3 separate regions of the Homo sapiens genome follow, and regions 1 and 3 are each linked to region 2. Evidence: promoter capture Hi-C in 16 types of primary human blood cells and fetal thymus (Javierre and others, 2016). All regions are on one chromosome and are shown on one strand. Each heading gives the region's core, a stretch centred on a gene start or on the middle of the fragment in contact. The rest is flanking DNA. Distances are from core to core; before and after follow the strand shown.

The links. The method cuts DNA at HindIII sites, captures the fragments that hold promoters and counts their contacts. A CHiCAGO score of 5 or more calls a contact.
Region 1: a fragment that was not itself captured here is called in contact with the fragment with the promoter of DEFB134 in region 2 in 7 of 17 cell types (M2 macrophages, total B cells, naive B cells and 4 more); the score reaches 9.3 in M2 macrophages.
Region 3: a fragment that was not itself captured here is called in contact with the fragment with the promoter of DEFB134 in region 2 in 1 of 17 cell types (monocytes); the score reaches 5.9 in monocytes.

Annotation. Positions count from the first base shown.
Region 1 is chr8:11,396,029-11,399,109 of GRCh38, reverse strand. All of the region lies in intron 2 of FAM167A-AS1 (FAM167A antisense RNA 1), which reads right to left. Among named protein-coding and RNA genes, the nearest start is that of FAM167A-AS1, 29 kb to the right of the region's middle. The HindIII fragment of the contact is 5,030 bases long and covers 1-3,081 here.
Region 2 is chr8:11,999,215-12,002,063 of GRCh38, reverse strand. It overlaps DEFB134 (defensin beta 134), which reads left to right and starts at 1,312. Exons shown (of 3, transcript NM_001302695.2): 1 at 1,312-1,356. It also overlaps the pseudogene OR7E160P and the pseudogene LOC100421446. The HindIII fragment of the contact is 7,293 bases long and covers 1-2,849 here.
Region 3 is chr8:11,416,235-11,419,050 of GRCh38, reverse strand. All of the region lies in intron 3 of FAM167A-AS1 (FAM167A antisense RNA 1), which reads right to left. Among named protein-coding and RNA genes, the nearest start is that of FAM167A, 49 kb to the left of the region's middle. RefSeq lists enhancers at 882-951, 1,560-2,059, 1,983-2,212, 2,060-2,561. The HindIII fragment of the contact is 5,187 bases long and covers 1-2,816 here.

The DNA.
Region 1 (3,081 bases), core at 237-2,736, 600 kb after region 2:
AGGTCGACTAAAAAACCTGAGGCTGGCCGGGCGAGGTGGCTCACGCCTGTAATCCCAGCACTTTGGGAGGCCAAGGCGGGCGGATCACAAGGTCAGGAGATCGAGACCACAGTGAAACCTCGTCTCTACTAAAAATACAAAAAATTAGCCAGGCGCGGTGACACCCTCCTGTAGTCCCAGCTACTCGGGAGGCTGAGACAGGAGAATGGCATGAACTCGGGAGGCGGAGCTTGCAGTGAGCTGAGATGGCACCACTGCACTCCATCCTGGGCGACAGAGCGAGACTCCGTCTCCAAAAAAAAAAAAAAAAAAAAAAAAACCTGAGGCTGAAAAGAGGAGAAATGGTTACTGGGAAACAAGAAATGGATGTTTCGTCCACTCATTTGGACTTTGGAAACATTTAGACAACTGCTAAATATCTCCTCAGTCACTAGCCTAAAATTTAGTCCACAGCCTCTATAAGAAAAACCTCTGAAAATAGGCAAATACGCTCCCAAATTCCTTTTTTGGAAGAAAAAAAAAAAACCCTTGCATTATTTTTCTGTGCCTTTGAGATGATTCCCTATCCTGTCTTCTCTAAAACCTGAGAACTATCATTTGGAAATACAAACTTCAGGGAAATGACTGTCATGTTTTTTAAAGGAACTATTTGGGAATTGGGCAAATAAAAATCTCAAGTCTTTTCCACAAACGTTGGTAAAAAAGCTCTTGCCATGTAAGCAGGTAAACTTAACTTCTCCCATCTTTGTCAGAAACACAATTCGGACAAAAATATAAATTGGAAATAAATCAATGAGTTTGTACTACTATGTTTTACTGACTTGTGACTAAATGTTAGAATGAAAGCTGTATTTGTCTGTAAGTTTATGTATGTATATTTGTATATTATGTATATTTAATATTTTTCCACCTCCGGATAGTGTTACTAAATTAATTTATAAAACCCTTAAAGGAGCTCTATTCAAATTGGCTTAGAGATAAACGAGTGCTCAGATAAATTAGGCATTCCTAAAACTCTCAGACATAGACTCTCATCCAAATTTTTTTTTTAAAAAATCACATGACTTGGCTAAGTCTTTGGTAAATAAAGCTAGCTTTTAAATTATTGGTAAAATAAAAGTAGGGGTATCTTCAGAATTGTAAGTGTGAAATATAATTCAGATACACATTTTTCCCTGAGTTTGCTGGCCACACAGGTTTGTGTTTTCCCTGCTTGACGTTTAAAAACATAAAACTAAAAACCCAACCTAAGAGCAGAACACACAGTAAAAATAAATTGCTTGACACATATCATTCATGAAAGTAAAAACATAGATAGATAGATAGATAGATAGATAGATAGATAGATAGATAGATAGATAGAGAATGAATTGTTTAGCTTTTTAGTTCTTTGCCTCTGTGATATTTTTGATACCTGATTTGTAAACAAAAATGAAATAAGATGATGGCTTTAAGTTCTTATAAAAAATGCCCATGAGACATCCAAGAATAATTGTTAAAAACACGTGAATTAAATAATGTACAAGTGACCTAAAAGTATATACATGAACTTTTCAATAATAATTATGTTTTATAAAACAGGTCTACTTAAAAATAGTTTCAGAAAACTTTTTTGGTAACTTGCAACCTTAAAGCTATGCTAAATTAAATTAAGTAATAAATACTCATTACATATCTGAGTCATTTCTTTTTCTTTTTTTTTCCCCCCGAGACTGAGTCTCACTGTTGCCCAAGCTGGAGTGCAATAATGCGATCTCGGCTCACTACAACCTCTGCCTTCTGGGTTCAAGTGATTCTCCTGCCTCAGCCTCCTGAGTAGCTGAGATTATAGGTGTGCGCTACCACACCCAGCTAATTTTTGTACTTTTAGTAGACACGGGGTTTCACCATGTTGGTCAGGGTGGTCTCAAACTCCTGACCTCATGATCCACCCGCCTGGGCCTCCCAAAGTGCTGGGATAACAGGTGTGAGCCACCGTGCCTGGCCATATCTGAGTCATTTCTAAGTCACTTAAAACATTGAAACATTAATTACTAAGCATAAATTTAAGTTTATATACATTGGCATTTTGTTTTTTATATGGTATAGAGAAGACAAAATTTGGATCTGTTAATAGACATGAAAAATTGTACTATGGAGAAGCACATGATTTTTAGAAATTATGGCTTTAATCTATGGAATGTGATAAACTACAATTGCTGAAGATTAAAATTCTAATTAATATATGTAATTAAAACTACTAGAAATAATAAGGGAAACAATCCTGTATGCAAAATACACGAGGAAAGCAAGATGTATTTTTGGTAAGGAAAATTGTAAGGCATGAAACTGTATTTTCTGTTAATGGAAAAAGGAGTAGTTAATTCTGTACGAAACTATGATGAGCAGTTGTTCCAGAATAAGAAAAAGAAAAATGCAGGAAGATAAATAAAGATCAATTTTTAAAAATATTTTAAAAGGGTTGTGGAAAAAGAATCTTTGGGGGAAAATGTTATGTGGTCAAAGCTGGCTAAAATGAGCTTAATTTTATTTATAAGGTTTTCTTACAATTAGCTTCCATATTACTAATACGATGATGCAAAACTAGAATTTCGTCCTCTTTGTCAAAATGGCCAAGTTTTCTTACTGTATCAGTCTGAGAATGTGAAGATTTTTCTTTATCGTTTAAGTTACTGTACTAGGACACAAAGATTTTTTTACAAAAATGATTTCTTGTGCTTCACGTTGTTTTCTATCAGGTCTTTGATTACTTAAGAAAAGCAAGGCCAGGTGCAGTGGCTCACGCCTGTAATCTCAGCACTTCGGGAGGCCAAGGTGGGCGGATTGCTTGAGGTCAGGAGTTCAAGACCAGCCTGGGCAACATGGCAAAACGTCATCTCTACAAAAAATAGAAAAAAATAGCCAGGTGTGGTGGTATGTGCCTGTAGTCCCTGTTACTCAGGAGGCTGAGAGGGGAGGATCAGCTGAGCCCAAGGAGGTCAAAGCTGTAGTGAGCCACGATCATGCTAGTGCACTCCAGACTAGGTGATGAAATGAGATCCTGTCTCAAAAAAAAAAAAAAAAAAAAAAAAAAAAAAAAAA
Region 2 (2,849 bases), core at 63-2,562:
CTGTGGAAGCTGGTACCAAGTGTTTCTGATGCCTTGGCCCTTTGCGTCCCAAGACGTCTGTGAAAGAAAAGAAAGAAAGAAAAGAAAGAGAGAGAGAGAGAGAAAGAAAGAAAGAAAGAAAGAAAGAAAGAAAGAAAGAAAGAAAGAAAGAAAGAAAGAAAGAGAAAGAAAAAGAAAGAGAGAGAGAAAGAAAGAAAGAAAAAGAAAGAGAGAGAGAAAGAAAGAAAGATTCTTTAGCTTTTTCAGTGTCACTTCCTTACCATAGGTTCTAGCTCCCCAGGCCCTGGCATCTACTAATTCTTCCTGGCTGGCCCAGACTAGATTCAAAGTAGAATTTTTGCTATATTTCAGAACCCCTTTGTCCCAGGAGACAATATAGAAGAGTGGTTAATTAATTTGGGTTCTAGAATCTCTGTAAGACTTATCAGTCCCAGATGTGTGATTTTAGAAGAATTACTCAAATCTCTGCTTCAACATCTTGAAAATGTGAATTGTGAAAATGTCTAGTTAAGAGATCATTTGTAAGATTAAGTGAGGCAATATTAAAAAAAATACATACTACAATCCTTGATGCCTAAAAGTGCTCCAAATACCAGCTGTTAGGAATATATCTGCAGTAGTTCCCCACCCAGCCACAGTTCTAGTTACTTACAGTCAACCACAGTCCAAAATATTAAATACGCTGGGTGCAGTGGCTCATGCCTGTAATCCCAGCGCTTTGGGAGACCAAGGTGGGTGGATCACCTGAGGGCAGGGGTTCGAGACCAGCCTGGCCAACATGGTGAAACCCCGTCTCTACTAAAAATACTAAAATCAGCCAGGTGTGGTGGCAGGTGCCTGTAATCTCAGCTACTCAGGAGGCTGAGGCAGGAGAATCACTTGAACCTGGGAGGCAGAGGTTGCAGTGAGCCAAGATCACGCCACTGCACTCCAGCCTGGGTGACAGAGCAAGCCTCCATCTCAAAATAAATAAATAAATAAACACAAAATTCCATAAATAAACAATTCATAAGTTTTAAATTGCATGCTGTTCTGAGTAACACAAAATCTTGCACTACGCAGCTCCACACACCCAGAATGTGAATCATCCCTTTGTCCAGTGTATCCACACTGTAAACACTACCTGCCCATTAGTTATTGAAATCATATGCTTCTGAGATCCAGCCACTAACATCACCATGGCTCAGTGACCCAGCATCACCCGAAGGAGATGATCCCCCTTCTGAGCTATGGTCAGAAGATTAGCAATAGCCTAATGCTATGTCACAATGCCTATGTCGTTTTCCTCACTTCCTCTCATCACATAGGCATTATATCATCTTACATCAGCACAAGAAGAAGAGTGAGCATAGCACAGTAAGATATTTTGGGGGAGACAGAGTTCACATTCACATAACTTTTATAGTATTGTTATGATAGCATATTGTTATAATTGTTTTATTATTAGTTATTGTTATTAAAATCTTACTGTGCCAAATTTATAAATTTAACTTTATCATAGGTCTGCATGTATAGAAAAAAAGCACTGTATATATAGAGTTCAGTATTATCGACTGTTTCAAGCATCTACTGGGGGTCTTGGAACATAGCCCCATGAATAAGGAATAACTACTATATATTGTAAAGTTAAAGTATAAACCTAATATCTAGAGTTCATTTATTTATTCAACAAATATACCTTTGGCACTGATGGCCTGCTAGACTTTCAGCCCAATACTGGTGTAAAATGATAAATAAGACAGTCATGGAATCTACTCGGATTTCACAGTCTAATCAGAGACACAAATAATTGATATAGTAACAATTGTGACAAGTGCTATGAAAAAAAAAGGAATGGGTGCTGTAAAATTTGTAATGGGAAAGAGGACCATCTCTTCACAGAGGATACAGAAGCTGCTTCCTTCTGCATCTCCCACTGTTGGCTAGAATACATTTCTGTTTATTAGGATTGTCATTTGGAAAGGCTGCATATTGAATCTGTATGGCTCAGGGTCAGACAGGGACATTTCAATTGCAGCTGAGAGTATGGCAGTTGCAGAACAACCACAGATCAGGAAGATGAGAAGAGTAGCATGATGACCCTAAAGAAATACCAAACCCAGGAGGCAGAAGAAAGAGCCATCTAGTCCTAGCGTGGAGCATATTGTACTTCTCCATTTTCTAATCCCAGAGCACCATGTGGCCTTAGGGGAATATATGGATGAAAAGAAAAAGCTGGTGTGCTGGTAAGCCACATACTTGTTTTCAAATGATGCGCACATCTCCCCTCTTTATCTCTAAAGTCTATGAACTAGGTCAGCTCCCAACTCGTGGCACCTACAGTGAACCAGACGCTGAGCCAGGGGAGGTCTAGATAACAAGAGACGATCTCTGACAGTTGCTGAAATTCTTCTTTACCTTTTAGAGCAAAACTCAGAGGCTGTCCTGTTCTGATATTTAAGTAAAATCACGAATTGCTGGTAGTTGGTGACCTAGTCAGTGAACGAGCTCCTTATCAATAGTGGGAGAATGATAGTAATAGTCCGTTCTGGGGAAAAGAATTTGGCACTGTAATGGTCTTGGGGTTTTTTAACTTTGGCTTTGTAAGCAACATTATTTTTGCTTGGGTTAAAGCCTCTTCCAGCTGTTTATCAACATAGATAAAAGTATATTGCTTTATTATTTCTCCTTGAGTCATATTCAACACTTTCTTTGCATGGGCAATGCCAGTATCCCACTGAGCATGTCCTCTCTGAGGTTGAGGTTTCCAGGTCTTTTTTTCTCAGAGTGATTGCTGGCTTCTTTGGGAGCCTCAGCCAGTAATTCTTTATACTGTTTATGACCTTTATACTCCCATACCTGCTTTTCAT
Region 3 (2,816 bases), core at 9-2,508, 580 kb after region 2:
TGGAAGAGTGAACATGCAGTCTGGGTACCCTGACATTTAAATATCTGACAGAGAAAGAGGCATGGTCAAAGGGTACTTAGGAAAAAAAGGTAGCTGTAGACCAAGCTACTCGGGAGGCTAAGGTGGCAGGATCACCTGAGCCCAGGAGGTTAAGGCTGCAGTGAGCTGAGATTGCTCCACCGCACTTCCAGCCTGGACAACAGAAGGAGACCTTGTCTCAAAAAACAAACAAAAAGAAAACTAAAAACAAAGCAAAACAAAAAATCCAGCTAGTAAGGTAGAAGGAAAAGCAGCTGGACAGGGCATCCGGCAGCCTTCAGGAAGAAACTGTTTGAAGGAGAGAGTCGTCTACACCAGCGCTGCTAAGACATCAAGGAAGAAGAGGACAGAGAGGTGGATGCTGGCTTCAGCAAGAGGGAGCCCCTCCTCCACCGTGATGGCAGTGATGGGGGAGATGGCCATCTCAGCTCAGTGGTAAGGCCAGGGTTGAGGAGGAGGCAGGAGATAAAGGCCACCTTGCTGCATCCATGTGCCATAAAGGGAGCAGAGACAAGGAGCTGGACAAGGACATAGATAAGGTCCAGAAAGTGGCTTGTGGTTTTCTCATAACGTCGTATAATATAATGAAGGTGTTGTCATGTGAGATAGGTCAGTGCCTGCTGAAAGAGAGACGATGTGCACAGGAAAGAGGGCAGCCACAGCACTTGCAGCTCTGGAGGAGGGGAGAGAACCCCCGGCAGAGTGCGAGTGGAGACCCGGCTCAGAGAACAGGACCAGGCACTTCCTCCTTGAGGCAAGAAGGCAGGGTGCAGCTAAAGGGGTGCCCGTTACTGTCAGGGACATTGGAACCAGGGCGACTGCGGCTCAAACAGGCTGGGGGAAATGAGGCTGAGACCTGCTGGGCTGCATCCCCAGGAAGTTAGGCATTCTTAGCCACAGGATGAGATCGGAGGTCGGCACAAGACACAGGTCACAAAGCCCCCGTAGATAAAACAGGATGTGGTGAAGAAGCCAGCCAAGACCCACCAAAACCAAGAAGGCAATGAAAGTGACCTCTGGTCGACCTCACTGCTTATTATTTGCTAATTATAATGCATTAGCTGCTAAAAGACACGCCTACCAGCCCCGTGACAGTTTACAAATGCCACAGGCAAAGGCCAGAAGTTACCCTACATGGTCTAAAAAGGGCAGGAACCCTCTGTTCCATTCCAGGATTTCCCCACCCCTTTCCCAGAAAATCCATGAATAATCTATCCCTTGTTTAGCATATGATCAAGAAATAACTAGAAATATGCCCATTCAAGCAGCCCCCGCCTGTGGAGCAGCCATTCTTTTCTTTCTTTCTTCATAAATGTGCTTTCACTTTACTCTGTGGATTCACCCCAAATTCTCTCTTGTGCGAGATCCAAGAACCCTCCCTTGGGGTCTGGATCAGGACCCCTTTTCAATAACAAATCAGTGGCACAGAGGAAGGGAGCCCGTGAGGTCGCTCCTATTTGTCTGTGAAATAGGGAAGTGAGTCGGAGGAGGTGGGATATTGGAGGTTTGCAAAGACATTTTTCAAATAATTACCTGAGAACGGGTGAGTTAATTAGGAAAGCGAAGATGGACCGTCTGGTCTGGTGGCGGGATTGCCCATTTGAGGCTGTGGTCATAAATGTGGGGTGTGTCCAGCAAGCCTGGTGGAGTGATTGATTTTTTCAGCAATATTTAGAAGTTCCAATACAGACAAAGACCAGGCAGACAGTGGGAGATAGGATTTGCCAAGCAGGTGACAGAGAACGGAAACAGCAAAAGTGAATGTTTTTTGCAAAGGAGCAATGTTAGTGTTAGACTGAGTCAGGAGGGAAGGACGACGAGAGGAAACGGGCCGGGAGAGCCAACGGAGCTGGAGGTAGGTGCATGGCCAGTGGTCTCCACGTGACCTGGGGGTTGCTAGGGTGAGTCCAGGAGAGATCAAGACTGAACAGGTGGAGACCAGAGTATGGGGAGAGGGGGAGCGACAGTTCAGATGTGGTGTGGCTTCTTCATTCAGAGACTCGGCCTGCTGCCACATTAGCTGCTGGTGCCCTGCTGAGCGTGGCCAGGTGCCCTGACCCATGGCTGGTGACGTCAAACTGTGGCTTCCTTGGCCTCCCAGAGATCTCGTCTCTCTTATGTTTGGAAAGGGTGTAAACTCCGTTTACACACACCCTTTTGACTTCTCAACAAGACCAGAAGCACTTCCCACTGGCTCCTTCTCCATGTCTAAGCCTGAAGTCTGTGGCCTAGACGACTTGGGGAAGGAGGCAGGCAGAAGAGGAGGAAGTTGGCAGTGACCAGAGCAGACAGGCCTGTGGTAACCAGACCCTATCTGATGGGAGCTGCTCAGCAGATTGAAGGTTTCAGACAGGGCTGTTTTTAAGTACCCCGTTCACAGGCTCAAAGCAAACAGCAAGGGAGACAGCTAGGCGGTCTCCAAAGGAAATTGATTAAGGAAGAGAAACCTCAGATGCGTTGGAACATTTATCATTTCTTTGAGGATACATGCTTGACGTGATGGATATTAATTACCCTGATTTGATCACTAGACACGGAATGCACAGAAACATCACTATATACCCCATAAATATGTACAATTATTATACATCAATTTTTTAAAAATTAAAAGGGAAAAAAGGTGTTTTAGCTAGGCATGGTGGCTCATGCCTGTAATCCCAGAACTTTGGGAGGCTGACATGGAAGGATTGCTTGAGCCCAGCAGTTCAAGACCAGCCTGGGTAACACAGAGAGACCTCATCTCTTTTTGTTTGTTTTTTTGAGACAGAGTCTGGCTC